Regions from separate parts of the Homo sapiens genome. Here region 2 is linked to region 1. Evidence: promoter capture Hi-C in human tissues and cell types (Jung and others, 2019). All regions are on one chromosome and are shown on one strand. The core of a region is centred on a gene start or on the middle of the fragment in contact, and the rest is flanking DNA. Distances in the headings are between cores, read along the strand shown.

Region 1 (4,361 bases), core at 824-3,323:
TACTTCATTTTCTTTTCTTCTTCACATCATAAAAATGATCCTTTCTTTGAAATTTTACTTTCTCTCTGCTTCATCGGGCTACCTTAAATCCAAATATGGGAGAAAATGTTTTCTGCTCACTTCTTAAACTTTGAAAGTTTAAAATCTCAACTTTTAAAATCTTATTTTCCCAAGATTAATCTAAGTCTCCCTCCACCACAAATCTGTAACTGATAGAAACTTGATGAAGAAAATGTCATATATTTTCTTTTCTTTTTTTTTTTTTTTTTTGAGACAGAGTCTTGCTCTGTCACCCAGGCTGGAGTGCAGTGGCGCGATCTCGGCTCACTGCAAGATCTGCCTCCTGGGTTCATGCCATTCTCCTGCCTCAGCCTCCCGAGTAGCTGGGACTGCAGGCGCCCGCCACCATGCCAGGCTAATTTTTTGTATTTTTAGTAGAGACGGGGTTTCACCGTGTTAGCCAGGATGGTCTCGATCTCTTGACCTCTTGATCTGCCCGTCTCGGCCTCCCAAAGTGCTGGGATTACAGGCGTGAGCCACCGCCCCGGCCAAATGCTGCATATTTTCTGCATCAGCCTAAGGGACACCCTGAAGTTTGGCACCTCACAGGTCAACAAATGAGAATATTTCTGTAAATATTAAGTTTTAACTTTTTATAAGGTTTATAACGTCTGTTTAACAAAATTATAACAACTCATACTACTGTGCGTCTGTCCTGCCTCTTTTTTAGAAGACAGTCTACTTGATCCTCCTTTTGCCCTTTCTACCATATAGTTTTTGTTTTAATAATATCCACAAATGACTCAGATTTTTTGAACCATGAAACTCTCAAAGTTTAATCAGTGAGCAGAAACGATTTTCTCCCATATTTGGATTTAAGGTAGTCCAATGAAACAGAGAGAAAGTAAAACTGTAAAGAGAAAATCATTTTTTATGATGTTAAGAAGAAAAGAAAATGAAGTGGCAGCTTAAACTTTGGAAAGATCAGACAGAGAGCTTAAGGTGATCTCCAGAAGAAAATTGCTAGTCGAATTTTCTCAGATAAACATTTATGCTTAGTATAGCACTACTGTTAGAGCATCATTATTTTGAGAAGAAAGTTCAAATTGTCTTGCGTTTAGGGGTTTCTATGTCCTACTGCAGACATAATATTAAAAGGTAGGAAAACATATTTGGTTAATACCTAATATAATACAGTTTGGTAAATATAGTTCCCTTGTCTTGTAAATATCTTATTTTGAAATATCAGCCATTTGTATAGGCCCAAGGGTCTTGTGTCATCTTCAGAATTCTAGTTCCTTCAGCCCAGGAATTCAAAGCAGCAAGAATAACACCACAAAATAAGCTCATAAGCTTATTTTAATGCTATAGTGCTGGATACATAAGATAATCATCTGGTGATTTTTATTTTGGCAAAAAATGTTTTTATAAGTGAAGATTATCAGAAAAGTGTCAATGAGTATTTTTTCTGGCTTAAAGAACTCCAATATGTTTTCAGTGCCAAGGAGAAGGACAGCCTTGTGTATTTAATTACTTTAGCTTATTTTGTCCTCTGGCATGATCTGTTCCCTGATTTCACCACAGTAGAGCTTGCTTTGAAGTTGTAGAAAAATTAAATCAATCACTTGGATCACATGTGTCCCAAAGAATGTGGCTTCCCAGGTAAAAGCAATCTTTCAATCCCCTACTCTCGTTTCACTTTGGCATTTCAACAGCGTTGCAGAATTCTTCGGCAGATAATTTATTTTATCCCTTGGTCCCAGCAGCTCTTATTAAGAGTTTCAGAATTGCCTGTACAAGGTGCACCTTTCACATTACAAGGGATCGGCTCATTTCTTGATGCTTATGCAACCACTTATAACTATGCCTACAGGTAAACATACTGCTGTCTTCTTGGAAGACCGAGAAGTATAAAGAATGTTTATGTGCAGGTCTAGCTGTTCCAAGTACCCAAGTGTTGGTTTAGACACACCTGGATTACCATCCACCTTTTATTGGCTGAGAAAGTTGCCACACCTGATTTGTAAGTTTACCTGTTGCAGCCAATAGCAGGGCCATCTCAGCCAGCCAGCACTGGATACTATCTGGCCAGAAGTAGCAAAGCAGCTCTTATTTGAAAAACCACTGGGTTCCGAGTTCATTACTACAGGAAAAACTGTTCTCTTCTGTGGCACAGAGAACCCTGCTTCAAAGCAGAAGTAGCAGTTCCGGAGTCCAGCTGGCTAAAACTCATCCCAGAGGATAATGGCAACCCATGCCTTAGAAATCGCTGGGCTGTTTCTTGGTGGTGTTGGAATGGTGGGCACAGTGGCTGTCACTGTCATGCCTCAGTGGAGAGTGTCGGCCTTCATTGAAAACAACATCGTGGTTTTTGAAAACTTCTGGGAAGGACTGTGGATGAATTGCGTGAGGCAGGCTAACATCAGGATGCAGTGCAAAATCTATGATTCCCTGCTGGCTCTTTCTCCGGACCTACAGGCAGCCAGAGGACTGATGTGTGCTGCTTCCGTGATGTCCTTCTTGGCTTTCATGATGGCCATCCTTGGCATGAAATGCACCAGGTGCACGGGGGACAATGAGAAGGTGAAGGCTCACATTCTGCTGACGGCTGGAATCATCTTCATCATCACGGGCATGGTGGTGCTCATCCCTGTGAGCTGGGTTGCCAATGCCATCATCAGAGATTTCTATAACTCAATAGTGAATGTTGCCCAAAAACGTGAGCTTGGAGAAGCTCTCTACTTAGGATGGACCACGGCACTGGTGCTGATTGTTGGAGGAGCTCTGTTCTGCTGCGTTTTTTGTTGCAACGAAAAGAGCAGTAGCTACAGATACTCGATACCTTCCCATCGCACAACCCAAAAAAGTTATCACACCGGAAAGAAGTCACCGAGCGTCTACTCCAGAAGTCAGTATGTGTAGTTGTGTATGTTTTTTTAACTTTACTATAAAGCCATGCAAATGACAAAAATCTATATTACTTTCTCAAAATGGACCCCAAAGAAACTTTGATTTACTGTTCTTAACTGCCTAATCTTAATTACAGGAACTGTGCATCAGCTATTTATGATTCTATAAGCTATTTCAGCAGAATGAGATATTAAACCCAATGCTTTGATTGTTCTAGAAAGTATAGTAATTTGTTTTCTAAGGTGGTTCAAGCATCTACTCTTTTTATCATTTACTTCAAAATGACATTGCTAAAGACTGCATTATTTTACTACTGTAATTTCTCCACGACATAGCATTATGTACATAGATGAGTGTAACATTTATATCTCACATAGAGACATGCTTATATGGTTTTATTTAAAATGAAATGCCAGTCCATTACACTGAATAAATAGAACTCAACTATTGCTTTTCAGGGAAATCATGGATAGGGTTGAAGAAGGTTACTATTAATTGTTTAAAAACAGCTTAGGGATTAATGTCCTCCATTTATAATGAAGATTAAAATGAAGGCTTTAATCAGCATTGTAAAGGAAATTGAATGGCTTTCTGATATGCTGTTTTTTAGCCTAGGAGTTAGAAATCCTAACTTCTTTATCCTCTTCTCCCAGAGGCTTTTTTTTTCTTGTGTATTAAATTAACATTTTTAAAAAGCAGATATTTTGTCAAGGGGCTTTGCATTCAAACTGCTTTTCCAGGGCTATACTCAGAAGAAAGATAAAAGTGTGATCTAAGAAAAAGTGATGGTTTTAGGAAAGTGAAAATATTTTTGTTTTTGTATTTGAAGAAGAATGATGCATTTTGACAAGAAATCATATATGTATGGATATATTTTAATAAGTATTTGAGTACAGACTTTGAGGTTTCATCAATATAAATAAAAGAGCAGAAAAATATGTCTTGGTTTTCATTTGCTTACCAAAAAAACAACAACAAAAAAAGTTGTCCTTTGAGAACTTCACCTGCTCCTATGTGGGTACCTGAGTCAAAATTGTCATTTTTGTTCTGTGAAAAATAAATTTCCTTCTTGTACCATTTCTGTTTAGTTTTACTAAAATCTGTAAATACTGTATTTTTCTGTTTATTCCAAATTTGATGAAACTGACAATCCAATTTGAAAGTTTGTGTCGACGTCTGTCTAGCTTAAATGAATGTGTTCTATTTGCTTTATACATTTATATTAATAAATTGTACATTTTTCTAATTATTTGACATTCTTTCACAAGTCTCCTTTTGTTTCTGTTTTATTAACTTGTAGAAGAATGTTGAAAAGCCTGATAATTTTTTATTCTCCAAATTGAGAAAGAATGTCAAGATTTGCCTTGTAAAGACAAACAGTGCATTAATTTTTGAAAATATAAAGTACTCTATGTTATTTATGTTATTTAACAACAATATACCTTATAATC
Region 2 (4,361 bases), core at 1,043-3,542, 170 kb after region 1:
GTTGACTTCGTATAAAAGAACTGCCGTACTAGAAAACCTGTGTTTTTAGATTTTGATGAGTTATCCAAAGCTGATGACCTTTCACATTAAAATTAACCTTGTTCCCTAGTAGCTTATTCCCATAGCCCTCAGCAACACCCTCCTACCCCTATTAATTTTGTTCTTATAGCACAACACTGACATCAAATGGTAAGTAAACTTAACCTCAAAGATTAATTTCCTCTCTCTTAAGTTATACTGGACCTTGCAGGCAATGAGATAATATTAAAACTCCACTTACTCTTGAGTGGCATTCATAAATTTTTTTGAGGGAAGGATATAAGGCATTAAAAAGAAACACAAAGTAATGGTGGAATAATGTTTTTACTAAATTCTAATTACTTCAGACACACACATACACATACACATACACATACACATACACATACATACCCATACACACAGACATAGATGTCTTTGGGGCTATTTTGCTCTTTTGTTAATTAATTTCAGAAATGGTGAATGTATTTTAAAAATGCCTCCAAAGATGTAGAGACTTGAAAATATGGTCTAGGTCTAGATATTTGTCAAACAAACCACGTGTCACACTATGAATTAAGCAGTACCCTGAATAGAATAAATGCCATATGTGTTTCAAACAGCTGGACATAAAATATCTGCAGACTTCATAATTGGTTTTTGTGTTTTGGCTTGATGCAGAGAATTTGCCAACCTGCAATAGCAGGATGATCAGCTACCAAGGAGACCACTTTGATTCTCCCTACCCCTCCAGATGCTGCTAGGAAAACTCAAATGGGAAGCACAGATGACTGAAAAATAACAGATGTGGAACAGGTCTTTCGGATGCTCAGTAAAAAAAATATGTGGTAAAACAAATATGTACTCTTTCTTCACTTTTTTCCTACATATTCAAAAAACTATAAGTCAATATTATTCACAAAGCAGTTAAATGTTTCTTATTTTTCCGTTTAGAAATGTATATAAAGACATAAGTAGTCTTTAATAGTTTTATTAAAACTATCAATTCCATTGCCCCAAAGTGATATTACATTTTTCAAAAAGACTTACAAAAACAAAATGTCCAAAGGCAATCTATCAAATGATAGTGATTTCTAACTCACTCAGCCATAGATAATTTTCACCTTTCACTCATTGGCTCTATTTAGGAAAATGATCTTCTTTATTAACATACTAGCTGGTTGCTCAAGAAGCATCAATGATAGTGATTAAAATAGCTGTTTTAGAAAGCTACCATCCAATCGTTATGGACCAAGATAAAGGCATAAAATGAAAGGAAAAGACACCCAAAATTACATCTAATAAGCAAAATTTTAATATTACATTTGCTTTGCAGGATAATCTTGCAAGATGATGATATAGCTCTTTGCTCCTAGTAGTTAGAGAGTTATCAAATAGTCATAGATTCTGGTATTATCAGAATCCATTCAAAATTAAGGGATAGTGGCTTCCACCAAAATTCTTTGGGTGTAATATAAAAGCTACGAAGGCAATTCTGTGCCAGAGTTTACTTCTACTCTGCAATATTCGCTAAAAAAAAAAAATAGGCATTCTTCTTCTATAATCAATCCTGGTTATCTTCAAATTAGAATATTGCCTGATTTGACATTTATAATGTTTGTTCTCTTACCAGGCAGGCCAGGAAAATTCTCATAAAGTCAGAAAAATACATAGAGTTTCTAAGATGACTGAAGAGTACATGTCTCATCCTTTCAATACTCACTTCCCTACTCCATTTCTTACCCCCTCACATCAGGCTACATTTATAGAAAAACAAAACTATTTTAATCATCTCTAGTTGGATTAAGGTTTGCTCATCTACTTTCTAGTAGTAGCTGTATACTGTAATATTTTACATAATAAAAACAATGTGTCCATTTTTTTCTGCCATCTTAATTCCAGCAAATCAAATCTTTTCTTAATATGTTATCTACCTGTTATTCTGACAAAACTCAGGTATTGTTATTTATCATCTCTGTACAGTCATCTCAAGCATTCACCTATTTGAATTTTTTTTTCAGTTTTATTTTTTTCTAGTTTAATGATGATGATGATGATGATGATTTTTAATAGAGAGGGGATCTCACCATGTTGCCCAGTCTGGTCTCGAGCTCCTGGTCTCAAGTGATCCTCATGCCTTGGCCTCTCAAAATGCTGGATTAGGTATGAGCCACCACTCCCGGCCTAAGCTTTGTTTTTTTAAAAGTTTTACTTGCTTCATTTAGTTTGGAAATGATCGAATAGGCATATGAGATATTCCAGGTGCTTCGCCTTCTTTTCAGGAGTCATGTCTGCTAGCAGTCCAAAGCCTTCCCTGAGAAAGCAGGTGGAATTGTCATGGATAAAACACTGGTCTATCTCAATCTCTTCCTTTTCACCTTCTGATTTCTAGAACATATAAATCTTCAATGTTTCCAAGAAATTAACTACATTTATAAGTATATATGTATCTTCTTGGTTTTAGTGGAGGACTCTGGGATAGATCTGTCCTCAAAGTCCACTGTGGAAAACAAACAATATGAAAAAAGTGGGAAATTAGAATATCACAGAAAGAAAGCCATTTGAGTGCCCTCTTGTGGAATAAAGCAGCACTGCAGCTATTGAAATTAGTGACTTAGTACTCTTAGGTTAAAATATTATTGGGAAAGTAAACAAAGAATGCTGAGACAAAAGAGAGAGGGAAAACAAGAAGGATGGGGGATGTTTATTTTAGGCAACTACTGAAAAATAGCAAGAAGGTTTGCAACTTCTATAATGGTCAATTTAAGGAAAAGGGGCAAAAAAGCATACTGGTTTATAATAAACACTATAAACTACATTATTTGCACTTTACTTCAAGATTATGATGTCACATAAGCCTTTGGCTACTGGTTCAAAAATTAGTTTACTCCTGATTAACCACTGTCAATAATAAATAAGGCTGGAGAGTATTTTCCTTTGTAAATTAGTGGTGATGGCCATTTCTATGGAAATGGAAAAATAATGAAGCTCTCCCTGCAGTGTGAATTGTCAAGCATATATATGAAATGCAGCTTACATAACAAAATGTAACTGCTAATAGAGAAGTCAAAATAAAGGTGAATTTAAGACAACTGGGAGTTTGTCTTGTTCCCAAGAAGACCATGCCATTTTTGGATATTACTAGGAAAGGTAAGGATAGTTGGTATGAGCTCAATGAATAACGTAAAAAATAAGAAACTAAAGCTATTATGGCATCACAGTGGAAATATGTATAGATTCCAAGAACCACTGAACCCTAATTAATGAAGCAGCTATGCTTATTCGATTAAGTGAGCTGAATATGGTCAATGAAAAGCGATAAATACAAGGAACTAAAGAGTTGGTAGACATACAAGGAACTCCAAAAATCCACTGCATAAAAGCAAAAAGGTCACTATAAAACTTTATCAAAATCAAGTATTTGGGAGCTGTGGAAATTATCCAAATGTTTGCAACACTATGAGCAGCTTTATTCAAGAAAAACAGCTTAATGTTATAAATAACAATGAGCTCTGTGAGGTTTGCACTTGCTCTATTCCTCTTTTCCTAATTCCATGAAAGCCCTAAAAACCAGAATCCTCACAATCATGGTAGCTAGGAAAAATAACAGTAACAGGGTGAGTGCGAGTTAGAATGAGCTTGAAGCTCCCAAAAGCCCTATCTCCAGAAAATCAACACTATTTTCACGCTTTTTGCAAAGGTTGCATTCATGGAGTTGGTCTATACTTGACCTGAGCTTGTTCAGTGAGAAAAGTTTTATCTGAGGGAATTTGTTTAAAAAAAAAATCCATCAGCAATTGCTTAACATTGCAGCTGCCTAATGCAGTGATGCCAACTGGGCAAAGAGGCTGGACAAAGATTCTCTGTATTCCTGGAAATCTCAAAGCCCATGCACAGGTGCCCAGGAAATCATGTGCATTAATCTCCCACCTCTGGCTGATCTTGAGGCTCTGAACAAGTAGAAAGTAAAAATCAAGATAAAATTGAAAACTGATAAAGATGAAAATGTGTTCAAACACACTGTCAGCATATTGGTGCCTCAGCAATGGGTAGTAAACAGATTGGTTCAAGGCATTTGGAAAAATTCTATCTAATAAAATTATCTGACCTCTATGCTGAGCAGAGACCTCAGGGGCTGCACATGACAAGGAATACAGACTTTATAGAATTAGTCCTGGAAAATGACTAAACAAACAAGCAGCAACAACAGACAACCTTGGGTAGGGAGAAAAATTCGATTTCTAGTGTTATCATTTTATAATATTAAAAATGTTCAGCTTTTAACATGATAAAAACTTGTATGTGACTGGCGAAAAAACCCCAGGAAACTATAGTCCATAAAT

Evidence for each region. The method cuts DNA at HindIII sites, captures the fragments that hold promoters and counts their contacts. A contact is called where the count stands out against the background at its distance.
Region 2: a contact is called between a fragment that was not itself captured here and the fragment with the promoter of CLDN8 in region 1, in 4 of the 25 tissues and cell types used here (heart left ventricle, liver, mesendoderm cells and 1 more).

The regions. Positions count from the first base shown.
Region 1 is chr21:30,213,809-30,218,169 of GRCh38, reverse strand. CLDN8 (claudin 8) reads left to right here and starts at 2,073. Exons shown (of 1, transcript NM_199328.3): 1 at 2,073-4,164. The coding sequence starts at 2,245. The coding sequence ends at 2,922. The HindIII fragment of the contact is 13,225 bases long and covers 676-4,361 here.
Region 2 is chr21:30,042,892-30,047,252 of GRCh38, reverse strand. No RefSeq gene overlaps it. Among named protein-coding and RNA genes, the nearest start is that of GRIK1, 110 kb to the right of the region's middle. The HindIII fragment of the contact is 6,828 bases long and covers 1-4,361 here.